Regions from separate parts of the Homo sapiens genome. Here regions 2, 3, 4 and 5 are each linked to region 1. The links are contacts of gene promoters, found by promoter capture Hi-C in blood cells and fetal thymus (Javierre and others, 2016). All regions are on one chromosome and are shown on one strand. The core of a region is centred on a gene start or on the middle of the fragment in contact, and the rest is flanking DNA. Distances in the headings are between cores, read along the strand shown. Region 1 holds the start of ELL2 (elongation factor for RNA polymerase II 2). Region 2 overlaps LOC101929710 (a long non-coding RNA gene). Region 3 overlaps LOC101929710 (a long non-coding RNA gene). Region 4 overlaps RHOBTB3 (Rho related BTB domain containing 3). Region 5 overlaps LOC101929710 (a long non-coding RNA gene).

The links. The method cuts DNA at HindIII sites, captures the fragments that hold promoters and counts their contacts. A CHiCAGO score of 5 or more calls a contact.
Region 2: a fragment that was not itself captured here is called in contact with the fragment with the promoter of ELL2 in region 1 in 2 of 17 cell types (M1 macrophages and M2 macrophages); the score reaches 6.7 in M1 macrophages.
Region 3: a fragment that was not itself captured here is called in contact with the fragment with the promoter of ELL2 in region 1 in 5 of 17 cell types (M1 macrophages, erythroblasts, M0 macrophages and 2 more); the score reaches 11.9 in M1 macrophages.
Region 4: a contact is called between a fragment that was not itself captured here and the fragment with the promoter of ELL2 in region 1, in 1 of 17 cell types (neutrophils). The highest score is 5.0, in neutrophils.
Region 5: a contact is called between a fragment that was not itself captured here and the fragment with the promoter of ELL2 in region 1, in 3 of 17 cell types (M1 macrophages, M0 macrophages and M2 macrophages). The highest score is 10.0, in M1 macrophages.

The regions. Positions count from the first base shown.
Region 1 is chr5:95,958,647-95,964,010 of GRCh38, reverse strand. ELL2 (elongation factor for RNA polymerase II 2) reads left to right here and starts at 2,160. Exons shown (of 12, transcript NM_012081.6): 1 at 2,160-2,436. The coding sequence starts at 2,290. It overlaps LOC101929710 (a long non-coding RNA gene), which reads right to left and starts at 2,010. Exons shown (of 5, transcript NR_130776.1): 1 at 1,975-2,010. It also overlaps a transcript of CAST not described here. RefSeq lists silencers at 1,604-2,071, 2,027-2,266, 2,337-2,746 and an enhancer at 1,551-2,308. The HindIII fragment of the contact is 3,633 bases long and covers 914-4,546 here.
Region 2 is chr5:96,131,483-96,136,203 of GRCh38, reverse strand. The region is part of intron 1 of LOC101929710 (a long non-coding RNA gene); the gene reads right to left. It also overlaps a transcript of CAST not described here. Among named protein-coding and RNA genes, the nearest start is that of MIR583, 55 kb to the right of the region's middle. The HindIII fragment of the contact is 2,983 bases long and covers 1,170-4,152 here.
Region 3 is chr5:96,173,663-96,179,122 of GRCh38, reverse strand. The region is part of intron 1 of LOC101929710 (a long non-coding RNA gene); the gene reads right to left. It also overlaps a transcript of CAST not described here. Among named protein-coding and RNA genes, the nearest start is that of MIR583, 97 kb to the right of the region's middle. The HindIII fragment of the contact is 1,419 bases long and covers 2,804-4,222 here.
Region 4 is chr5:95,781,975-95,787,074 of GRCh38, reverse strand. It overlaps RHOBTB3 (Rho related BTB domain containing 3), which reads right to left. Exons shown (of 12, transcript NM_014899.4): 10 at 3,112-3,278. Among named protein-coding and RNA genes, the nearest start is that of GLRX, 38 kb to the left of the region's middle. The HindIII fragment of the contact is 2,886 bases long and covers 2,279-5,100 here.
Region 5 is chr5:96,146,515-96,151,903 of GRCh38, reverse strand. All of the region lies in intron 1 of LOC101929710 (a long non-coding RNA gene), which reads right to left. It also overlaps a transcript of CAST not described here. Among named protein-coding and RNA genes, the nearest start is that of MIR583, 70 kb to the right of the region's middle. The HindIII fragment of the contact is 2,406 bases long and covers 1,055-3,460 here.

The DNA.
Region 1 (5,364 bases), core at 911-3,410:
AAAAAGTCAATTACTAGTAAGAAGCTACAGGTCAGATATTTGAAAACTACAACGAAAACCATCCTTACTCCTCCCCCACCCGCTTGGATGTCATCAGAAATTCTGAGTAAGAGTAGGCCAAGTTAGGATATCATGTGGGTGGGGATTTACCCACATTCACCGGAAAAGCAGTGGGATACAGGTTTTACTTGTTCCGGTCAAACCTCCCTTCCCCCTCACCTCCCAAATAATTAAGGCTTTAGCTATGTGCTCAGTCCTTTACTATCAAAAAAAAAAAAAAAAAAAGAGAGAGAGAAAAGAAAAGTTCAAGTACAGAATTATTTTTAGATTATAGTCCGCTTAGAGATGAACTATTTGAATAAGGTTTCTACTTTTGGAAAGCGGAGAAAACTAGGTAGTAAAGCCTCTATTTCCCTTCTAAGAGTAAACTTTTTAATCCAATTTGATGATTACCTTAATATCTCTACTACATGAATTTAAGATAACACTGTATCACTAAAGTAAATGAAATTAGCAAGCGTTAATCACGTCTTAACAGCTAGCCAATCTTAGTGGATTGAAATTAAGTCAATTTACAAACTGTTTTCCTGTGATGGAGTAACACTTAATACAGGTGTTTCCACTTAATCCAATTCATTCTGTAATTCACATTATACACCTACTATGTTTGAAGGTCTGAATCAAAAAGGAGTGTACCCGTACGGTGGGGAAGGCATTTATTGGGAGGGGAGGACATGGAATCATGGCCCTAATCCATTTAAAATAATGAAAAATACTGATTAAATATCTATAAACTTTCCCGGGGAATCCCAGTAGAACAGAACATGGTTTTATAAGCTGAGGGTAAAAACAAGCGTCTCAGTTTTTTTATTAAAAGAACTTTTTTAAACTGCCTTTCAACAGTTTGAAAGCTTTCAATGGTTTGTTTTATCTGGTGTTTCTGATCAACCAATTAATCCATCCTCTGACAGGAACCCATCTGTCAGTCTATCCACACACAATCTGAAAGGGACTCCAGATTAGGCTCCCTCTTTTAGCCACGCCTACACAGGAAGCATCCTGTGGATGGAATGGAAAGTATGCCAGGCCTTTGCACGCCCCTCACGCCCCCATCTCCTTCGCTTAACCTCGACAGCCTCTTACCTTTAAACCCTAGCTAGGTTTTCACACAGCCCTATCAAATAAAAAGGACAATACTCAAACTGAATTAGAGAATGAGAATTGTCGAGGTTTCTTTTAATTTAGATCAATGCCAGTTTTACTCTTCTTCTAGAGTCCTTTTTAAGGAGATATCATCCCCACCAGTTGTGATCCCAGAGAATCACAACAGGGCATGGCGTAGGAAAGACCTCGAAGCTCAATTCTCTATTATACCATGCCCACCATACGAAAGGCATTTAACCTCCCGCGTGATTTTGTCCTTAAGATGCTCCACAAGATCTAACACAACTCCTACATCTAAGAGTCGACTCACTAATTTCAAGGGTTTTTGTTTTTGTTTTTGTTTTTATAAGCTCTGCGTGTGGCACCCGATAACTTCAAGTTTAGAGTGAGCAGTTTCCTCCCAATGCCGTTTGCTCAACTACAGTACTAGGAGTTTTGAGGAGCAGCTCTCTAGCGAGTCCTCCTGCTGCGTCCTCCCCCACACGCACGCACCAAGTTCCACAGCTTCCGCAGCCGTCGGGGAACAAAGTCCTTATTTGGTCACGGCCATCCCCTTACATAGTGGAGGTGGAGATCCTCCTCTCCAAGGACCACCCGCGTAGGGCGAGATTCCCCAATTCTGACTTTTCACTACTATCCCCCACAGGGGCGGGGCTCCAACTCCAGGTAACCAGACCAGGCAACCTGGACTTCCAATTAGCAGGGGAGTCCCCAAGCCAGCCTGGCCAATCTCGGCCGGCTAGCCAAGACGACCAGACGTGACGTCAGACATGATTAAGTTGGCGCGTCACCTAGACGTCAGCCTCTTACCTCTCGGACGTCCCGTCCCAGGAGCAAAACTCTAGTGACTTTGGGCCCGCCCCCGTGAGAGTGGAGGGCGGCCGATGAGGGCGGTTCTGAAGGGAACAAGACCAATGAGACGAGCCCGGGGCGGGGCGCGGGGCCGGAGGGTGGGGCGGGTGGCGGCGGTGGCAGTCCGAGGTCTGGCTCCGCGCAGTATATGACAGTACGTCAGCAGCGGGATGGCCCTAGCAGTGGCGGCGGCTGCAGAAGCCCAAGCAGCCGCGGCCGCAGTGGAGGCTAGAGCCGGAGCGGCGGCGGCGGCGGCACCCCGGGGAGTTTAAGATGGCGGCGGGGGGGACAGGGGGCCTGCGGGAGGAGCAGCGCTATGGGCTGTCGTGCGGACGGCTGGGGCAGGACAACATCACCGTACTGCATGTGAAGCTCACCGAGACGGCGATCCGGGCGCTCGAGACTTACCAGAGCCACAAGGTGAGCGGGCCGGCCGGCAGGCTGGGCTCAGAGAGGCAGAGCGCACCCCTCACGGCCTGGCCGCGCCCGGGTGCGGGGCCGGCGGAGCCGTGGCTGGCAGCTGCTACCGTCAGCGCCCGCAGCGGCCAGGCAGGGCAGGGCCGGGCAGGGTGGCTGACGCCGCGGTCCCGGGCTAGCCTGGGCGTTGGGGAAGCGGGCAGTCGGGCGGCCCCTGGCGGCGGGGCCGAGGCAGCCGCAGCCCTGGGTCGGCTGCGCTGCCGCTGCGGGACTTTCCGACGGCCCCCGAGGATTTCCTGGCTTGTTGGGTCCCAAGGAGGGAGAGAGGCCCCGATAAGAGAAGTGAGATGACCACGCTACCCTCGGCGGGGAAGGAGGGTAGCGAGCAGCGTATGGGCAAGGAACCAGGGACGACTCGCGGGCACCAGCTGCCCGCGTTTTCCAGTTACATAGGCACGGTGGATCCTCAGAGACAGGACACAGGCGCTCCGCGTGTGGGGGTGGGACCTTGTATTCCCAGGGACTTGGGGACACAGGCGCTCCACGTATCAGGGGACACACTGTGTGCTCGAAGGGATGGGGACTCGGGCGCATGGTGAGGGGCACACGGTGTACTCATAGAGATAGGGACTTAGGCAGTCCGTGTAAGGGGGCGGCGCACACTGGAACGGCGGGGACACTGGCGCTTCGCGTACGGGGGGGGAGGGGACACACCTGCATTCCCAGGGACTCCGGGACACCGGCGCATCGCGTTACTGGAGACGCGCCGCGTCCAGGACGGACACAAACCAACACAGTGCCCTGGGGAGAGACCTGAGGACTCACGCACACTTAGCGCTCCCCGGGAGCAAGACATCGGGTTCTGGAGAGAGAGGTTCACGGACGCTCAACGTACCCGAAAAAGCTCCCGGCGTCTTGGGCTGACTCTGGGAAGTGTAAACGGGGAACGAGCCAGAGCCAGAAGGTGTGGGGAGGATACAATGCATCCCGGGCAGAGACTCGGGCCTCTCACCCCTCGTTTTCGAGAGAAGCCCATGGACACACACACACACATATACACACACACCCCTCCAGTACAGAGAGAGGCTCAGATAGGCGCACATACACTGTAATTGGACTACAAATCCAGACGCTTTCATGTTGGAAAAAAAATGGGAGAGACAGGGAAGCACCGAGAAGGGACGCGGTAACCAGGGTGCATGGGGAAACAGTTTATGGACATGCAGTACTGTGGGAGACCGGAGTGGATACATCGCGTGAGGGAGGGATATGCCATATGGGGGAACCTGTAACGTTTTACAGGAGAGGAGAGAGTCGGAAGGGAGATAGAACCCACGGGGCATCTTACAAATAGCCCGTTCGGTACTGAGGAACACACTCCAACCGGTCTCGTACAACAGACAGAGGGGCAGAAGGACACCGAGACACAGATTCACATAGTTATTCAGCTAAAAGTGGGGAAAAGAATTGACATCTGTTGAGCTCCCACTAGTGCCAGGCACTTTAAATACATAGAGCGAAGGCAGAGTCTGAGGCAGAGCGGCAGGAGAGGTGTGAACCCTGGTTTACTGGGAGTGTATTCAGAGAGCCCCCCCACCCCATAAGTGTGCACACAGAGGAAGGCATTAGTTGTGCACGCTTTGGATAGAAAATGAACTCACATGATAGGGTATTTGTAAACAGCAGTGGAGGCTCAGAGGTGAGTGTATTGTTAGGAAGGTACTCACAGAATTGGGTGGACACATGAATGTACGTGCTAGGACACTTGTGTTACTAACCAGAGAAGCATATGGTGAAAAGGACTCACAGACTTTGTGTGGTGGGGTGAGGGGGCGTCAGGGAGGAGTGCATGCACAGGGAGAAAGGTACCGTCCTACATACAGTGAAATCTCGAGAGAAAATCTCAAGAATGGCTGGGAGAGATACAAGAAATAGAAAACTGCATGTGCCAATAGCTACTCTTAGATAGGTGCACCTGCAGTGAAGAGACCAGCATCAGACGGAGTGGGAGGCCCATATGGGGGAAGCCAGAAACACAGGCAGAGGGACAGAAGCAGACAGTGGAGAGAAACTCTGGAGAGAAACTCAGCCTTGCAAGATGGAAAGATAAGCTTGCCTGTTCCAAGGGAAGGGCGTGGGAAGGAATGGCAGTGGGAAGAAGGTAGGTCTGGGGATGTGAAGAGAAAACCCAGAGGCCCAGAGAAAAAGAAGTCAGCAGGAGGCGGCCAGCCCCTATTCAGGAGCAGACCCGAGGAGCAGAGAAAGACTTGACACACAGTGGGTGGGAAGAGGCATCTCTGGGGGCAGTAGGTCAGCCAGCTACCTTGGGAAAACAACAGGCAACTGTACAGTTGATTACAGCAAGATTGACAGTGTACACTTGTGGGGAAAGTGGGCAGATGAGGAGGTCCACTTGGGGAAGGGAAAGCGAAGTGACAGTAATTGGTCATGATCTGCATGACCACTGGAGGCCCCAGAAGGGAGTGCTTTGTTTTCCTACCTTTGTATGGCCTTCATTTCTGCTTCCTATACCCTAGTGTTTTCATATTTGGGATTAAGTTTACAGTGCTCTAAAAGCCCCTGCATTTATATACCAGTAGCTTCCAGGAGACAGAAGATCAAAAATTCTTTCTCTGCCAACCCACCACTTAGTTCTTAATTTAAAAAAAAAAAATTACTTTTTAAGAGGTACCAAAGTCGTCAATGTCTTTGTTTGCTTCTGACTGCTTCTAGTACTTTTTCCATTTCTGTACATGCCCATTTATGGGTCTGGTTGGTCTCTACAGAGGCAGCAAAGGGAAAGGAGGAAGACTTTTTCCCAGATCTCTCTACCTTAAAGCATGGAGCCAAGTAGCTTGTATTAGTCCTAGGATTCCTTTTCTCCTGCAAAACTGGTGGTAGAAACAGTGGCATGCGGGGGATGGTACATAA
Region 2 (4,721 bases), core at 1,412-3,911, 170 kb before region 1:
CTGCTCTACAGCACTTATTGACAAAAATAAGTGATTGAAGAAATACATAAATAGGGGAGAAGAGAACAAACAATCTCACTGAGAGAAGAATTACAAATAATTTACGTAGACATTGGACCCTCAAAAAGAGGTTGAGCATAACTCTCCATTCTTTAAGTGTTTGGGCTACACACAGAGTGCAGTGGTGTGATCTCGGCTCACCACAACCTCCGCCTCCCAGGTTCAAGCGATTCTCCTGCCTCAGTCTCCCGAGTAGCTGGGACTACAGGTGTGTGCCACTACGCTCAGGTAATTTTTGTATTTTTAGTAGAGATGGGGTTTCACCATGTTGGTTGGCCAGGATGGTCTCTATCTCTTGACCTCATGATCTGCCCACCTCAGCCTCCCAAAGTGCTGGGATTACAGGCATGAGCCACTATGCCTGGCCTCATATACACATTTTTAAAATAAAGAAAAAGAAAATAGGGAAAAGGCTGAGAGGGATGAATGGAGGTTGGAGGTGAGGACACAGAAGGCAGAAACACAAGACAATGGTGAGATCCTAAGCCCTTGGGAAAAAAGAGAAATCTTGGAATCTACTCTTTCCCAGGCTATAGATCTGAGATCTCAAGGTTGTCCTACCTAGATCTTAAGAGTTAGAAATCTCCAGCTAATGTTTGGTTAATATTAGTCAACATCTCATATTATTCTCCTAAGATTGTGCTAACTTCTCCCTTACCCCTTACCTAAACCACCACCATACATCCAATTACTTAAGCTAAAACCTAGGAGTCATTCTTGATTTTGCCTTTTCCATTACCTCCCATAACCAACCCATCAGCAATTCTATTTCCAAAATAAACTTTGAAACTATTTTCTTGTCTCATTCTCACTGCCACCCCTGGTCCCAGACACCATCATTTTCTTCCTGGCTGACTTTAAGATAATTCTATTTTCCCTTTACACACTCTTGCTTTGTATACTCCATCCTTTCACAGCAGAGTGATATTTTAAAGCAGTAAGTAAAATAAATTATTTGTTTAAAGTCATCCCGTGGGTTTCCATAGCTTTGAGGATTGAATGCAAACCCTTATGGTGTGGGAGGGAACCTGGCCTGTCCTGCTGTACCACCCACTCTCAATAGGCTCCCACTATGCTGCCGGCCTTCTGGTCCCTGCAAGTGCCAAGCTTTCTCCTGCCACAGGACTTGTGTTCTCGCTATTTCCTGGAAGTGTCTTTCTCCTTCTCACTCCATTTTCTCATCTTTCCTTGTCAGCTCCCATGTCCCTCCTTGTGGAGGTCTTCCCTTTATATTTTATTCAAAGTTGTCCCCACTTACCACAGGCTTTCTTTATTTCCTTCATAGCACTTGTTAAGATTTACAACTTACTTATGTGCTATTCTTCCTACTAGAGGCAGAAAACCGTGGCTCTTTCACTGCTGTATTGCCACTGCCTGGAACAATACATGGAATGTATAGTAAGCACTCCATAAATATTGACTGGGTGAGAGACTTCTTTATTTAGATGTTCTCCTGTGCCTTTAGGTACCACTGGCCTGCCACCTCTCTCTTCCTATGGCTTAGGGAAATCCACAGGGCTTGCTACCCCATATCTTGACTTTTGTGTAGCCCTTTCTTGCTTCCACACCAGACTTCCTACAAATTGACTCATGCAAACAGGCCTCAGGTGGGCTGTGGGTGGGAGCAATCCCTTGGGTCGCCCTAAAGGCCCAGGAGCAGCTGAATCCCAGTAGAGGCACAGATTGGGCTGAAGCTGAGATTCTTGATGTATTCATCATTGAAGTCTGTGCCAGTTATTCAGTAAAGCGACTTTTCACAGATGTAATATATATCTTAAAGACTTCTGAGAAAGAAAATGGAGATTGCATTGCCCTTTCTGAAATCAGTTTTAATCAAAAAGAGGTTAGAGAAACTCTATGGGGTGAAAGGCATATTCTTGTGGGTCTGCAGTTGTCACACGGTTTTGGTTTTATGTTTGTATTTTCATTTTAATAGTTCTGTAAACAAAAAATTCACATGAGCACATTTGGGGTAACCTGGAAAACTGTAACAGAGCACTGTAGCGGCCTTTTCAGTCCTTTACAGGCATTTGTGATTAATTGTTACCAACTAAAGGCCAAATGGTGTTAGTTCCCTCACTGTAGAAACGGAGGTTTTACGGTGGTTTAAACAGAGTTGTGTTCCTCAACGTTTGTTGCCAAATATGTGTGCCCACATCACTTGTTTGGGGTAAAACCTCTCACAGAACCTTGACTTTCACTGTTAATCTTAGGAGTCTGAGGGCTTCAGTAGCAGCCCACAGGGGCCTCTCCAAAAACACAGTGGGGAAGTTGAGTGAGCAGAACTTGACCTTTCGTAGCCCTTGTTCCTGTTCTCCAAACCCTGGCTTCTCGTCTTCACCAATGCAGCCCCCCTTTTCTATTTTGTACATCAGTCTTTGTGTAACCAGCCTGTTGATCAAAGTGCATTGTAAAACAAGTTTATAAACACTTGCCTAGACCATTGCAGTTCCAGGTAAGAATTTAAAATATTACAAAAATTTGTAATGAAGATTTTATTATAGCCTTATTCAGAAGGAAAATATGGGAAACTGGCTCAAACTCAGAACCATAAGCACAAGTAAATTTCCATTTAAAGCAAAATGAAACACATTTCAGTTATACCACTTAAAGTATTGGAATGGGATACTTCACCCCTCTCATGTCGTAAAGAATGTTACAGAAAACCTCAGGGTGTCACAGTGAATCAGGGGTAGAGCCAAGACTAGAACCTAAGGTTTCTCACTTTTGTTCCAGCACTCCTTCCATTATTCTGCCTTGTCCCCACATCCTTTTTCTCTCAAAATTACCTCATTGAGGGAGGCTTAACATTTCTAGGAAAACTCATGTGTGTGTGTGTTTTTTTTTTTTCTCAAAGCGTTTTGAGGGGTCTATGACCAGAACCAAAAGTGGTCTTTAAGCCAGAGTGGATACATTTGCTAATCTCTTAATGTTAACTTTTGTTTTGTCTGGTCACAGCATATTATTCTTTTCTACTTTATTCTTTTGCTTCAGCAAATGCCTTGAGTGTAAGTAAGACTTTTAAAACACTTTCTGTTTCTTCCTGACATCTTTGGAGTTAAGATGTACCCTTCATGTGACAGACTTGGTTACAAAAGAAAGCACTGTAATTTTGCCACTTCTGAGGCCTGACTCTTGCCTGTCATCTTAATATTTCTGAAGCTCTAATCTGAAATACACTGATATCCTTATCTGGCATGTGGATTCCTTTGTATCTGTTCCTTTTAGCATCTTGTCTTATATTCATATGTCTAGAGAACTTACTATAAAGTCCAGTGGATATGCTTCAAGATTGCTCATAAAACTCTCATTCTATAGGTTTACTACAGCTGGGACATATTTTCCTTCAATTTGCAAGACTGTGTTAACCAGGTTGGCTATAAATATTTATATAATTTTCCTTCTGTCTGTTCTCTCAGTCCATGAAGACTCAAGAAGGTCTGCCTTTCTATATCCATAGTCTTTCAAATTAAAGATGAGCCATTCCTTATCACACATTGTCACTCATATGTGGGAGCCAAAACAGATCTCATAGAGGTAGAGAGTAGAATTGTGGTTATTAGAGGTTGGGAAAAATGGGGGGCGAGAATGAAGAGAGGTTGTTTAGTGGGTACAAAAGTACAGTTAGATAGAAGGAATAAGCTGGAGTGTTTGATAGCACAGTAAGGTGACTATAGTTATCAGTAATTTATTGTATTTTTAAAAATACCTAGAAGAAAAGATTTGAAATATTCTCAACACAAAGAAATAAATATTTGAGGTGATAGATACCTCAATTACCCTAATTTGATCATTATGCATTGTACAAATGTATCAAAATATCACATATACCCCATAAATACATGCCATTGCTATGTATCAATAAAATTTTTTAAAAGAAAAAATGGCTATTTCCCTAGTGCAGGCTTTCAACATTATCTTTTGCAACTTTACTTTTAATTGCTTCCCTCTTTCCCTCCCTCCCTTCTGTCAAAACATACTCATTGACACTGCTTCTGTTAAACAGTGTTTGATTATAAGTATAGCCATACATTTAAGATTGGATTGAGTAGCTTCAGATACTATGTTTCCTTTGTGTGGCTGAATAAAGCTTTGACTATGTTGTGTGTAGAAGAAATTGAACAGTTTTGAAATGTTCTACTACATTTTCCATTTTCTGGCTTTTGCTTTCTAGACTTATCCAGTTGGGTTTGTGTCTTTTCAATGTACCCTGCTACTCTTGCTGATTGAACTGGTTTCAGACATGTCCCATGGCTGCCAACATCACCTGAATCGAATTTCTTGTTTTGGGTCCTCCCTGTGTATGATTTGATACTTATGTTTGTGGGACTTCATTTTATTTTCTAAAATGCTATTTTTCTGAATTATCAAAAGTTGGTGTGAACTCTTCCCAACTTCTAGGAAGTTAGCAGTCTCACCTATATGAGAGCAAATACAGACTTCCTGGGCTCATTGCTCTCATGTAGGTCGCTGATAAAAATAAATACCTTGGTGCTTTTTCTCTTAATGTAAAAAGTAGGTTACGGTGATCCCAAGGAGAATATCTTCTCATTTTACTGTGTTACAGAAATGCTGCTAGGCAGCAATCATGTAAGTCAATTGCTGCAGCTCTGCCATTTATTTTTCCTGAACATCCCACAGCTAAATGTAACATACGGCAA
Region 3 (5,460 bases), core at 2,264-4,763, 210 kb before region 1:
TATTTGTAAAGGAGAGGACATATATGTATTTAGTATGAGAAGAAGATGAAATTTGAGAACTTGAGAGAGATAAATGAGTTATAATTGACAGGTCTTCGTGACTGATTGGTGTACAAGGGCAAAAGAGAGTCAAGAGGGAACCCCTAAGTTTCTCTCTCTTCTTGCTGGGATGGAAGATGGGGCTTCATTGAGATCAGGAACACAGAAGGAGGAGCAAGAAGTAATCAGTTGAGTTTGAACCTGTTGAATGAGGCCCGTATAAATAGGCCTGTAAAATGTCCAAGTTGAGAGATAAGTGCTCTCTCATCTATGCACCCATTACTCCATCATATTATCCCATGTACCATGCTGGGATTGTCTATCTCCACCTCTGATTTTCCCCAGGAAGGGCTCTCCAAGATAAAAACCTCCCCTTCAGATTGTCTTCAACCAGCCAGTGCTCCCCCATAACAAACAAGGCTCTCCCACTTTTCCTCTTTCTCTCAAAGGCCACCATTAGAGCAGTGCTAACTCACTGAGAAATATCCTGCAAAGACTAGAGCCCATCACCCCTTCTAGAGAAAGCAAAACATGGAACAAAGAAGGAAAGGCTTCTTTTTTTTTCTTCTATTCTATTAGCCCCCTCATTTTCAAAGGCACCATTGTTTCAGGAGAACTGAGTATTTTTTAAAATAAATAAAGAAGTGAATACAATCTTAAGATTCCAACTTATTAACAGAAAACATGTGTAGACCTAAGAATTAAAAATAAATATGTCTTTAAAGATGACCTGGAAGGCTTTTTGTCTGCCAAGAACAGAGTTAAAGACCTCAGAAGGTCTATGTTTTCCCAGAAATACTAGATTACATTGCTAATGATGGGCAAAGGCATTAAATCATGCAGATTCCCCTGCAATTTTATTACTATTTAGGTGAGTTTTATAATGTCCTGAAATAATGGAAGAAATCTTGAGACTGATCTTGGGTTGTGGTTGTGGATATTGAATCTATGGTTTCATCTTTTGGACAAATGTTTCCAGTTCCTACTTTTATGTCCAGATATGTATATTTGAGATGAGTTCTTCTCATGTTTGAATTATATTTTAGTGATCTTGGTTGTGTTGGTATACAAAATATGAATTCATTTTTAGAGCATTTTCCATCAGATATATTTTATGTCAATTGAGTATTTCTAGCGAAGAGTACAGTTCTTCCTTCAATGTTCTTATTTGTTCAAAATTACAGGAAGATTTCTGAAAGTTGTTAAGAATCAACAGGGGAATCACTAGCTGCAAAACGTCTCCAAACGGACCAGAGTGAGTTGCAGAACCAGAAGCAGCTCGGCTTGCTAAGGAGAAATTGATGTTGTCCTCAGCACTCATTGACTTGTCTGGTTTTCACATGACAAATAAACAGATGAATCAGTTCCTCCTTTTTCTAAGAGATTTTACATGCTTAAGGTCAGAAATTAACCAAAGAAAAACCGGTTTTATAAGTATGAGCTGACTAGATGCCACAGTGATTCATTTCAAAGGTGCTGGCTATTTTCAAACTGCTGAGAGACCTTGCCATTCCCTGAACTTGGGAGGCTTGTTCTAGCACATGCACATATTCAGCTTGCTATATGAGCAAAAGTGAGATCATACGGGTTGATCCTGGCAGAGTCTCTGAAAATGCAGTAATTCATGCTGTCAGTTACTATCAGCAGCAATTTGCTTCTGGATTGGTTCCTGTAAGCACTCATGTGAGCATTCTGCACAAAGGACCAGAGTACAATATTCTCTTGGATTTCAGGGACTTAGTGTGGTTTCAACATATAATCAAAAGTGCCACATAGTTCACCACCTCGCATTTTGTTTTAAAGAGACAGAGGCTTAAAACTGGATTCCTTTCTTTTTTTCCCAAAATAGGAAGTTGGTGGTAATTTGGAATGTATCTTTAGAGCAATCTGTTAGCACTTCAGCAAAATCTACTCCGTTGGTAAAGTGCAGAGTAGATTTTTTAATGAGGGATAATTTCACCATCTCTAAAATTAATAATAATAATCATAATAATAAATTTGCTCAATCACAAAACTAAACTTCTTAGATTCAACTCACATGTGTGACCAACTCTTACTTTAGGGCAAATGCATTAAGACATGAAAAGTTATTTGAATTCTTAAGTATTATAATAGCATATACTCCCAGTTTGGTACAATTTCCAAAAAGTTCTATGACAGAGAAATTTAGATGATGCAGTCCTAAGCTTAAAGGCACATTATTAAAGAATCTCTGCAAAACAATGTAATTCCATTGAGCTCCAAATTATTTAAGAAAGCAGTAGCAGCCTCACTACCAATTTACTGCTCTACTAATTTAATTAACACCATTGAGAACTCATGCGATACAGGGTTATGAAAAGGTCCTTATCAGAAGGGGCTCAGGAAGAAAGAAAAGCCAGTCCTTGTGACTGACAAACTTTTAGTTTAGTTTCACTCAGAAAAGTGAAAGTATGCCAAAATCTCAAGTGGCATTGTCAAAAATATACATATTCTTTGGTGTTAACCTGTGACTTCTCAAGTGTTACCAGTTGAAAAATTGCTTCCATATTGCATCAAACTCAAAAATCCTCAAAAACTTGGCATCTTACCTAAGAATTTCTTAGTTTGCTATCTACCTTGCCCCCTAGAATGTAGACAGAATGAAGGTGGGGACTTCTGTCTGTTCACTGATGTATTCCCAGTGCCTAAAACAGTGCATAGCACATAAGGCACTTCATAAAGTTTTGCTGAATTAATGAATAAAAGTTGTCCTTTTCCTCAGCCTAAAATCTTCAGCAAAGCTTATCTGTAATCAGCTCCTGCTCCTTTCTCTAGACTGCCTTCTCTTTTATCACTTTATCTCTTGAACTATACACTTCAGCCAAATGCAAATTATTGGCAGTTCCCCAAATGTACCACATTCTCTCTCTCTCCGAAGGCCTTTGCACATGTTCCTCTGTGTAGAAGACTTTTCTGTCTTGTCCTCCTATTCCCTGGGCCTGGGAAAATTCTCTTTGTCCTTCAGATCACAGTTTAGAAACCTCTTATTTCAGAAAGCCTTACCTAGCCTCCAAAATAGAGCTAGACGAGCCCTTAGCTCCCTGTAATTTCCGCTATGGTAGCACTTACCCACTTGGACTATTATTGCTGCAAGGAAATAACATTACTAGAGGCGGAATGATGTTTGTGAAATTATACATCAGCAGTTGCACTTCAAACAGGACCTCATAAAGGAATTAACTCTGTACTCTTAGTGCTGGAATAGGAATATTTAAGAAAAATAACCAGGATGTATTAGAAAAGCATCACAAAAGTTTGAGCAAACTAACACATATTTAAACATACTGCTCTATCTCACTGAGTGGAAGCATCACTCTAGTCTAACCACTAAAACAAAAACATGCATGGCATCCATGTGAAACACTAACACACATTGTTCCATAGATAGTTGCTTCATGTCATTCAGGTCACAGCAACAACGTCACGCTTTTAGAAAGGACATCACTGACCAACGTTGTGTAAAGTTACCCCAATTAATTTATAGCCCATTGCCCTGTTTACCATCTAAATTACATGTCTATCTCTTTGAGATGCTCTCAATCATTTATGTGTTTACTAGTTTATTTTCAATTCTCCATACTAAATAATAGTTTCTATAACAGCAGGGATCTTGTTTGTCTTATTTAGTTCTTTATACCTCCAGAGCCTAAATGAGTCCTTGGCATTCAGTAGATACTCGATAATTTTTTTTAATGCATGTGAAACAAGGAACCTCAAAATCAAAGTAATTTCCATCTTGGCCAGTAGGGTACTTTCACTGGCACTGGTTGCCCAGAACTGAAAGTCCCTTGTACTTCATGCAAAATTCACATGTACTAACCGGCCAACTGATGAGTTCTGTCCAATGACAAACTATTATAGTGTAGTACACTGACTTCATTTAATTGCATGTACTATTTTATAAGTAGCTTATATTACATTTTCTTAGTATACTATTAGAATACCAATAATAAAAATAAGAAAAATCTATGTCTTCTAAATTTAAAAACTTCAGTTGCTTTTCTTCTGGATTAGTTTAAAAAATCTGAAGTTAAATATGTTTTCATATATATTAGAAAATCTAGTAAAAAGTATTGTATACCTATTACCTTGATAAAAATTATTAATATCAGTTTGCCTAGATAAATCTGAAATGAATACAAAAAGATTGAGGAGGAAAGCTTTTGATTTCATTAAAGATTGAAAAGAAAACCTTTAAATATATTATTTGCTGAAATGTTAGAATACCACACAAATACTATTTTGGGGACCAATCACACAGAGATTGTACATGGTTAGGCCTCATTAATTCTATGGCAACACTACTATAAAAACACATTTTTACTTATTTTGATTGGTTAGAAAAGACATTAACAAGATTACAAATCATGAGCCAGAAGCTAGAAAGAGAGAGTATACAACTGTATCATTTCTAAAAATTCTTAAAACAAAGTAGAACAAAAAAACAGTGCCAATATTAAACTACTAATTCTAACCAAGGAGGGAAACCTATAAAACTAAAATTGTAATCTGTGTCTGCACATTAAACCTTTATCATCCAACTAGTGGTAGACTTGTCATACAGAGGATTCTGACTGGACTTTCCTTCCCCACATAAGCAAGAGGGCGAACTCCTCCTGTCTGCGGAGGAGTGGAAGAATGATTGCAGCGCCCAGCGCAGGACCTTGTTCACAGCTACTCAACAAATATCTGTCTAATGATTGTTTCATGGACTAATTGTGAAAATTGGAGAATATCCTTCATAGCAGTAACTTGAACTAGAAGTGTGGCCCAAGAAGAATCAGAACTGGAATTCCCTTAATGGAAATGGACCAGACAACCAGAAAGAAGGAAACTGGCAAGTTTGGGCAGCCCAAAGAGGCTCCTGGGAATCTCAACATCTCTTTGCACAGCTTCCTCCATGTTGTGCTTGATAGGAGGACCTTCCTCAGATTCTTTATCTTCATGAAATTAAAAGTGAAAACTCTGGGTTCAAGACTCATGTGTCACTTAACAAGTAGATGACTTAAAAAATAAGTTCAGGCCGGGCGCGGTGGCTCACACCTGTAATCCCAGCACTTCGGAAGTCTAAGGCGGGAGGATCACACGGTCAGGTGATCGAGACCATCCTGGCTAACACGGGAAAACCCCGTGTCTACTAAAAATACAAAAAAATTAGCCGGGCGTGGTGGCGGGCGCCACCTAGTCCCACCTAGTCGGGAGGCTGAGGCAGGAGAATGGTGTGAACCCGTGAGGCGGAGCTTGCAGTGAGCCGAGATGGCGCCACTGCATTCCAGCCTGGGCGACAGAGACTCCGTCTCACAAAAAAAAAAGAAAAAAAAAAGTTCATTTATCTGAGATTCAGATTCCTAAGCTAATATAATGATAAAAATAATACCCCAAACATCAAACAGAATGTTT
Region 4 (5,100 bases), core at 2,472-4,971, 180 kb after region 1:
GATATTATCCAAAATATCTTAAATACAGTAGGATGACACATCTGAATAAGCTTTCCGCTTCCAGGAATGAAAGAACTGAGGAATGAGGAATTGGTAGCACATGTGGGGGTTTGGGAAGTAGATTTCAACAGAGCAGTTCTAGCTAATGTACAGACCTGGCCCAGATTCATAGTCTAGGGACTCTGTAACAGGAATGGAACATGTCTCACTGTAAAAACTAGGTTTTAGAAGGATATGTGTTGACGTAAGAAAATGGGTTCAAACTGAAATAAGCAACAGAATTTTTAAAAAGGCATTAAAAAACCATAAACCAAATGCAATAGAACTTAAGAGCTACAAGAAGAACGTGGAGAAAATACCCATAAACTCACAAGAAAGTACCTGGAAACTCTCAGAAATACAACTTGTGCCTCAGATAGCCAAATATTAACATATAGATTATAAATAAGAAGATGCATTAAAATTTTTAATACAAGAATAAATACAACTTCATAGGAATCACCAAAGTTTGAACAGATAGGGTTTAAACAGGAGTAGAGATACGGAATCTCCACCTCAACTCTTGTATTTTAAGAGTCCTCCTTGATGGAAACCTGAAGGTAAATCATGGTAAAGAACTGAGAGAGGTTAGGGGAAAATGGACAGAGAAGTGAGAGAATACCCACACTGCTCATCTATCTAAGAAAGTATGAATGATGTTTCCTGACACACAGTACAAAACTGGCAGAGTGTTCAGAAATTTTGATTATTTGGAGAGCTACTGGGAGTCTAATTCTGCCAGAAGACAATTTCACTCCTAAAAGTCAGAGAAATGGCAAGGCAAAAGTTAACCAAATTCTGACCAACAGGGTGAACTGACTGGTGAAGTGAAATCTCAAACTAGGAACTTCAAAGAAAACTTGGGAAGAAAACTTCTGTTATCTGGAATTCACAATTGCCAAATTAGGAACCACCAGGAAAAGAATACAGGAAAACTGGTAAATTTAGGCTTAATCTTAGAAAATAAAAAGTCTTCAGAAACAAAATTCAAAATGAGCTTGTATCTTAGATTGTTTGAAATTCAAGGGGAAAAGATAAGGATAATCACAGAGTCAGAAACCAGAGAATCAGGGAAAACAAGTCAAGAATTTCTGACAGTGCAATCAAAAATGATTCTGATGAGGAACCAAGTGTAGGGGGGCAGTGAGGGGAGGCACCTAAAGAAATCAATGTGACCACACGGGAAGTTCTCTTATACATAAACAATTTAAGAAGATACTAAAAGATAAGGAAAAAGAAACTTGTGTCCAATTTTTTAAAAAGTATGAACAACTTGTTAGAATAGTATGAAAATGATACATCAAAAATGAACTGAGATTGTGAAACTACTAGAAAGAATTTTAAAAATTGTAAACTAAATTTAGAGGGGAGCTATTTATCATGAGATGAATGTAAACGTTTTACAAAAAGAGATCAGTGTTACTCAATTTTTTTTTTTTTTTGAGACGGAGTCTCACTCTGTCACCCAGGCTGGAGTGCAGTGGCACGATCTCGGCTCACTGCAAGCTCCGCCTCCAGGGTTCACGCCATTCTCCTGCCTCAGCCTCCCAAGTAGCTGGGACTACAGGCACCCGCCACTATACCCAGCTAATTTTTTTTTGTATTTTTAGTAGAGACTGGGCTTCACTGTGTTAGCCAGGATGGTCTCGATCTCCTGACCTCGTGATCCGCCAGCCTCGGCCTCCCAAAGTGCTGGGATTCCAGGCGTAAGCCACCACGCCTGGCCCTACTCAATTTTTAAATTTGTTTTTAGCCCTAATTAAATACATGTGATCGTAAGACTTGATTATGAGAGAAATGAAGTCCAAAATAGTTAAGGAGATAGTAGGAGAAGACCTAGATGCTTCAAATAAATTCCCTTCTATAAACAGAAGTGTTGATGAATGAATTCGTTTCAGCTTGGAGGCAAGCATTCAGCTGTCACAGATCTGGAATTTGCCCCATCATGTGGCTCCATTTTAGCAATGTGGATGGAGATAAAAGTTGTCATGCTTTTGTAACCCTGGACGTCAAAGTTGATAGGTATAGACATGTTGGATGCCAGATAATAGTTCAAGAAGTACTGACACTCTGTAGTGATTGAACAAATATATTCCTGTGAAAAAAACCTAGAGGGCTCGGCTTACCACAAGTTGAGTACACAAGAGTGTGCCATAACTACCACAAGTGCTGAAACTGTCTCGGGCAGTGGATGGAATGGCAGAATGGCCAACGGTAGGATGGCCCATCTGAATAAGCTTTCTGCTTCCAGGAATGAAAGAAAGTGGGAATAAGGATTTGGCAGGTTTTTGACTGTGAGCACATCTGGGGGTTTGGGAAGTAGATTTCAACACAGTAGTCCTAGTTTATTTACAGACCTGGCTCTGATTCATAATTTAGGGCCTCTGTAACTGCAGTTACTTAAAATTAACTTAATTATGTAACTCCCCCACCCCCGTTCTCTAAAATCAGTAATGATATAATTATTGAAAACAAAAGACTCCGAGCTTACAAGAGGCCCAGAAGAAGCATGTACACATACGGCAGTGATTGCTAATAAGGTGAGACATGAAAACAAAAGGCATTCTGCAAGGATAAATGAGGCACACCAATATCTCCTACATACAACTGAAACTTCAAAACATGTTCATTATATGGATGAAAAAATGAAGAAGTAAATTAGTTTAGCTTAACCATCGCTATCAGTATATATGGACCAATTCTGTCATTTCCCTTTTAGGAACCTGAAGATGTGATTGTTTGGGGAAATTCAACATAAATTCTATTTCCTACAATGCCTATGTGACATAGTATAGCACCACATTCAAATGACTCTACTAAGGGCCACTATTTAGTTAAAAAAATTCCGTATCTGGACATTTTGCCTCCTTATAAAAGGGACTGCACACAAACCCTAACGCTTCAAAATTATCTAGCCAGATAAACTGTTGTGAAGGCACTTTAGCCTCATTAGCCAAACTTCCAAACTAAGACTAGTATTAACGTATGTTAAAAAATGATAAATTTTAAAATAGTATAATTTGAAAAATATTTTATAAAAAACTAGGCTATCAGATACACAGAGTCAATTACCTTGGCCTTTTTAAGCAGGTCAACTATATCAAGGTTCATGGATGCCAGTTCCCTGCTTGGCATGCTCTGCAGCTGGGTAATGATGAACAGCTCACAGATGTGCTGCAGTCTGGACACTTGGTACATCTCGGCACAGATCAGGAGACACATGGCCTGGAATATGCCAGCTGATGAGAAAAGGGACATGAGAGAAAGTGGATGATGAAACCATTTCTTTAATGATCTAAACACCCCCCACCAACAAAAAACAACAATTAAAAAAACATGCTGACCGTAGCATCCACCATAGAATAGAATGGTTAGGAAAAGCCTCGAGGGAGTCAGCATTCTGCACTTTTATTCCATTTTATCTTTTTTTTCTTTCCTTTCTTCTTCTTCTTTTTTTTTTTTTTTTTTTTTTTTGTAGAGACAGGTCTCACTATGTTGCCCAGGCTGGTCTTGAACTCCTGAGCTCAAATGATCCTCCTACTTTGGCCTCCCAAAGTGCTGGGATAACAGATGTGAGCCATCACACCCGGCCTATTATTCCATTTTAAAAAGAAGGGCCGGCGCAGTGGCTCACACCTGTAATCCCAGCACTTGGGGAGGCCGAGGTGGGCGGATCACGAGGTCAAGAAATCAAGTCCATCCTGGCGGACATGGTGAAACCTCATCTCTACTAAAAATAAAAAAAAATTAGCCAGGTGTGGTGGCGGGCGCCTGTAGTCCCAGCTACTGGGGAGGCTGAGGCAGGAAAATCACTAAAACCTGGGAGGCGAAGGTTGCAGTGAGCGGAGATCATGCCACTGCACTGCAGCCTGGGCAATAGAGCAATACTCCATCTCAAAAAAATAAAAATAAAAATAAAATAAAATAAAAATAAATAAATAAAATAAAAAAGTAAAAATAAAAAGAATCCAAGCCTTCATACTCAGAAGTGAATCTATTTTTTTTTAATTCTTCAGAAAAGGTGATTCTATAATTGCCCTTAAAAATTAATTCCAGGACTATCTGGTAAATCTTTCCGTTAGCTAAACTAGATCCTTGCCATTTTTTTTTCTTGACATTAGTCTTCAGGTTGGTTGGTTGGTTTGTTGTTTTGTTTTTATTATGATAAAATAAACATAACATGAAATTTACCATTTTAACCTTTTTTTTTTTTTTTTTTTTTTTTTGAGATGGAGTCTCACTCTGTCGTCCAGGCTGGAATGCAGTGGTGCGATCTTGGCTCACTGCAAGCTCCTCCTCCTGGGTTCACGCCATTCTCCTGCCTCAGCCTCCTGAGGAGCTGGGAGCACAGGCGCCCACCACCACGCCCGGCTAATTTTTTTTGTATTTTTTGTAAAGACGGGGTTTCACCGTGTTAGCCAGGATGGTCTCGATCTCCTGACCTTGTGATCCACCTGCCTCGGCCTTCCAAAGTGCTGGGATTACAGGCATGAGCCGCCACATCCGGCCCATTTTAACCACTTTTAAGTATATGATTCATTGGCATGAAGTACATTCACACTGCTGTGCAGTCATCACCACCACCATCTCCAGAACATGTTTCTTCTTCCCAAACTGAAACTCTGTACCCAATAAACACTAACTCCCTGTTTCCCCCTTTCCCCAGCCCCTGGCAACCACCCAATTTGGCTGGGGGTTTTTTCAATACTTCCCTAGAAATCTGGTTTTTCATGTAATTCTCGTTCTTATCCCTCCTTACATTCTTACATTCTTTTGTAGCTATGGAACCAAGAACACTGTGTATGGTGAATATTTAACATAATAACATTACCTGTCTTCTGTGATCTTCCCAATGCACAGATTCCAGTATCTGGCTTAACTTTTTGATTATTCATTTTGACTCATTTTTCCCTAACACACTTTTGCCAATTTTTAAAAATCCTATCATTATTACTGCTTTCCTCTGTAATATTTTCTAATTAGCAAGGTAAAACTTAATATTAGCAGCTTCAATTACTTGAGTGAGAGGATGACTGAAAATCAAATTTTCCTATTACTCCA
Region 5 (5,389 bases), core at 1,008-3,507, 190 kb before region 1:
AGAGGGCAAGAGTCTCTTTGCTCTTTATAGCCTTTAGACATTACCTTCTATCCAAGGGGTTTTTTCCAAGATTGATCAATTAAGCCTCAGTTTTCAGTGAAGGAGGCATTTATCCTGTTTATAAGACAGACTTTAACTCAGTGCCCTGCACAAAGAATGAAAATATTCTTGGTTAAAACCACTCAAATGTTTATTGGATGCTGTTCACATAAACCTTATACATACTGTTCCCACTGCCTGGACCCTAGAGGAACTCCCATCCCTAACTCTCCCCAAGAACTTAGCACAGCTGACTCCTGCTCATTCATTACATATGGTTTCTTGAGAGGTAATCCTTGCTGCCCTGTCTAAATAGGTCTCCTCCACTACCACCCTCTGCACTATCCTTTAAGAGCAGTTTTATGATTCTTTTTAATTTGCTTATTAATTTTTTAGAGATGGGGCCTCACTATGTTGCCCAGGCTGGACTTGAACTCCTGGACTCAAGTGATCCTCATGCCTCAACCTCTTGAAAAGCTAGGACTACAGGCACACACTACCTCACCTGGTGTCACGGTTTTATAATTCAACATTTTATTTATTTACTAGCATAATCAAGTTAGGATAGTAAAGAAACTGGAATCAGTATGTGCAGACAGAAAGCAATTGATCCTCTCCTTCCTCTGCCTCTTTGAATCTGCTGTCTTCATATGTTCTTTCCTGTCTCTAGATGAAAAATCTCCACCAGTCCCATAGCTATCACAGTCACTTCCAAGTCTTAAACAAATAGTCTGTTTTCTAGGGTGATTTTAATATCAGAACTCTAAACCTAAGTTAACCAATGATTCCTCCCCTCTCACAGCTCAGATCTGCTTCTGATCCAGGCAAGGAAGCTCATCAGGAAGACAGCCTTGTCAGCTTTCTCCTCACTCCACCTCCTCCCATCTTTGTAGTTGTGGATTGTGGCTCTTCAGGTTTGGGGCAGCAGATGGAGAAGAGGGGAATATAGGTCTGTCTTGTCAGATGTCACTGTAATCTGGGGTTTTTACCTCTGCATCTGGCAGATAACCAAGCTTCCCAGGCCTGCTCTTTATGGGGTTTTCAGAGGCCCTGCCCCCCACAGCTGCTTTGCCAGGCAATAGTCTTTCGGGTTGGTCCCTTAAGAATCTTCCCCACCATCCCACTCTGCCACTCCATTCTAGAGACCTGTCTCTTTCCAGAGTCACCTCACTCCGTAGTTTCTCCCTCTTAAGTTGCTGCCAAGATGACCCAGTCTGCTCCTTCCTCAGAGTCAGTTTTTACCCAGTCAACTATGGAAGGGCTGGCCATTCTCAATACAGCATCTCTTCTCTCCACTGCCCCTGCCTCTGCCTTGAGATGCCTCATATGTCAGTCCCCAAGTCCCCCAGATTCAGGAAACACAGGACAGCGTTCTCTCTGAGTGGTTCCCTGGAAGCCTCCTCCCTACTAGTTTTGAGAGTGGGGGATACACAGCTCCTCCCTGCAGTGAGGGGAACCTTACAGCACAGTGACAACTCTCCTCAAGAAATCCCCTCTACCAACACTGAAACCTCCAAGAACGCTAAGCCTTCTCCTCAACCCTGGAGCCCTGGAGGTAGATGATGGGTTCTGACTGGCAGAACCAGTACCTTTTCCACCAGTCCTGCAGAGGTAGTCTAGCACCTCAGTTTAGAAAGCCAAGGGACTTGACACCTACTGCTTTGTTCTCTGGTGCCTCAGCCAAAACTGAGACAGAGAGATCCTGTTACACTTGTTTGTGGGCAGTCTCCCCCATTAAGCTATAAACTCCAGGAGGTAGGGACCTTGGCTGTTTTATTCACCAATGTATCAGCAGAATGCCCTGCATAAACTCCCAGTGGGTATTTAACAAATATTTTTTGAGATAACAAATATACAATAGGATGAAGATGGTGATGACACAGTCACCATTTTACTAAAGAAGGAAAAAAAAAGATGAGGGAACTTTTATGTTTATCAATAAAATATCTGATCTTGAAATAAGTTACCTTGTTATTCCTTCCCCTGAAAGAAGCTCCTGAAAGACCTAAGTTTAAATCTTAGAGCTAAAGTTTTTGTTTCAAGTCCAAAAATGCCTGAGGCTCAGACAGCGAATGCTTACACAAGAATTAACAGATTGGATGCTAGCTGATGATGCTAATGTCAATTCTTTGTCTAGACATGCAATGCCAGTTCTGCTGACACATTCTCTTAGAGCATTTTTTTGCAGGATGTGAAACTGGCCTCTGGGTCAGTGATATTCAGAAATAAATCTGGACCTCTGCAGAGAAAACCCTTCAAAGTAACCCTAACCCCCATGATTTGCCCTTAATGAGTCTCATCAAGCTCCTTTTTCACAGGGGCAGCCTTGGAAAAATAGGGAGGCACCACTGCATTTCAATGAGGCTGATGCCATGTTCTTCTCACTTGGCAAAAGCATGGGAAGGAAGAAAGAAGCTGAAAAAGCAAATTCCCCCAGACTCATTCCATGACAAACAGACCAAGTGCATAGGGATGGTGATGGATAACAAGAGCTGCTAGAAAAATAGCCTAGCAAATATCCTCCCCATGTGAAAACTTCTTCCATCCATCAATAAGGCACTGTGGGGTAGGAGGAGGTGTTTTAGAGTTCGGCCTCCAGCCCCAGGAGGAATGGGAAGGAGTTATGGAGGGAGTCTTGCCTTACAAGTTTGTGCCTGCAGTGTACACACAGCTTCCTCACAGACAAGTCTCATTCCCCAATTCCCTTCTGTGCTCTTCAGCAGAACTGATGACAGAGAGAAGACTCCATACGCCAAGTCAAAGCCAAGGAAACTGTCTCTTGTAATAATTTCCACTTAAAAATAAATATTTAAGAGAATAGAAATTTTGATTGAATTAAGATTCACCTAAGAAGGATTCTTCCAAACACAAATATAACAGTTTCAAAATTCTGCAATAGAAATTTAGACTTTAGAAAATGTGTCTTCAGATGCCCCACACTTTACAAGTAAAGACACTAGGCTCTTAAGATGCTAAGTGACGTGACCAAGGTCACACAGCTCTTCTCACTGGAGTCTGCTTCTTCCAACTCTAGCCTCTTGCTCTTTCCACTGTTATACAGTCTTCCGTGTATAGTTAGGCATTTCTTCACCTAGCTCAGGTAGGGATCAGATAACTTGATTTAATAGTTTCCAGTTTTTATAACTACACATCATTCTATTGCTCTAGCATATATTAAACCAAAAGAGTGTCCCTGATTCCAGAAATTTAACTTCAGAGTTACACAAGATGTGTTGGCCTAAGCACATAAACTGAAGTTTTATCCTAACGCTGACTCTGACTCACCAGAACGTGTTGGGCTAGGCATGAAATTGTCTCAGTTTCTTCATCTGTTCAGTGGGGAGAGTAATGCTGATCTGTACTTATTCATTTAAAGAAACTGCCTGCCTAGAAACTACCGAATAATTGTGGTGAAAAAGCTTATGAAGATTCTAATTATAAACTAAAGCCATATAATGAAGGCATCAAAACACATAATTCAGACGCTTTCTAATAATCATGACAGACAGTATTTTAGTGTGCCGAACAGACAGGTGACTGCTACCAATCAAGCATATTTCCACAAAAAAAATCATTATCATATTGTTTCAACATATCAGAGGTGTTGATTAAGCCAACAGAATTTGAGAGACAAAATTAAAATGGAAATTTGCCTCAAACCTGCTGAGACTGGGTACATAGCATGTTCCTGAGGTTTTATCTGCCAAACAAATCTTCCCATCAGCAGAAGAAAACTAGGAACTATTTTCTCATGACCAAAGAGTCCCTGTGTGACCAATAGTCCCTCTCACAGTGTCAATTTTGTGAAGTCACCGTAAGAAAAGAATTCCAGACAAAAGATAGGCAATAGCAATAAGTCCGATGATGAAATTGAACCAAACTTCTGTTTTGTTTCTCACTGACAATATTCTGTACCACATTTTCTAATACTGAGCTAACAGTGGGATTCATGTGGATGGATGGGATAAAAATTAATTTCTTTTTTTATTTTCAAAAATGACCATAAGATGGTTTTAAAGTGCTGATAATGTCCTGTTGCTGATCTGCACAGGCTATCTAGACTACGGCAGCATAAGTAATCACTTTGACACTTACCTAAAGAATTGTGTGGTTGGCAAAATGAGAAAGAAAAAGAGGTGGTGGCTTCTTTAATCAGTCTTCAATAGAACAGCTAGAATGATGTAACAAAGCCTTACCAAATTATTTGTTCTTTTGTTTTTTTGGGGTTTTTGTTTTGTTTTGTTTTGTTTTGTTTTGTTTTTGAGACGGAGTCTCGCTCTGTCGCCCAGGCTGGAGTGCAGTGGTGCGATCTCGGCTCACTGCAAGCTCCGCCTCCCAGGTTCACGCCATTCTCCTGCCTCAGCCTCCTGAGTAGCTGGGACTACAGGCGCCCGCCACCAAGACCAGCTAATTTTTGTATTTTTAGTAGAGACGGGGTTTCACCCTGTCAGCCAGGATGGTCTGGATCTCCTGACCTCGTGATCCGCCCGCCTCGGCCTCCCAAAGTGCTGGGATTACAGGCGTGAGCCACCGCGCCCGGCCCCAAATTATTTGTAACAAGGTTAAAAGTAGTTTTTACAACAGATCTTCTTTCGAAACAGTGATGTCATTAGGCATTCTGTTTAATGCCACATAGAAAACTACGAATAAAACCATAAATTATTCACAGATGATAATAAATATTTAAAAAGTAATAATGACAATGTTGGAATAATTATAAGTGTACCTACAATTGAGGGCTCATGAAACTCTTTCCACTTCCAGCTGTGCATAATCACAGAACATGGGGCACTAAAGTTATCTGGTACTGTGGTAGAGACAGGTAGGGCTTGCTGACTATCCATGTGCGCTCCTACATTTCCCAGCTTCCTTTGCACTTAAGATTGAGGTCATATGACTAGTTCTGACCAATGGACTTTGATACAAAGTAACCGTGTCACTTCTTGACTGAGGCAGTTAAGAGCCAGTGTGCTTCATTCTTCACTCTCTTCCCTTTTCTTCCCCTGCCTCAGCAACACTGAGAGCCACATGTTCCAGATGGTATACTGACACAGACAGGGAAGCTGCTGAGTCACAATGAACTTTACATGAGTGAGAAGAAAACTTTGCTGTGTTAAGCTAATGAGATGTCATGGGTTGATGTTGCAGCACTAGGGTTAGTTACCCTGACAAAAAAAAAGGCTGTATGTTAATGTGTTTGCTGTGGCCTAGAACTTAAATTTAAGCTGCTGACACTAGGCTTCTAAAAATAGCATTAGAGGAAAAATAATATTCCTTTTTTTGTCTATTTAAATGTTCTCACTTTTCCTGGTCCTGCACAGTCTAAAGCAGTGGTTCTCAAAGTGTAGTT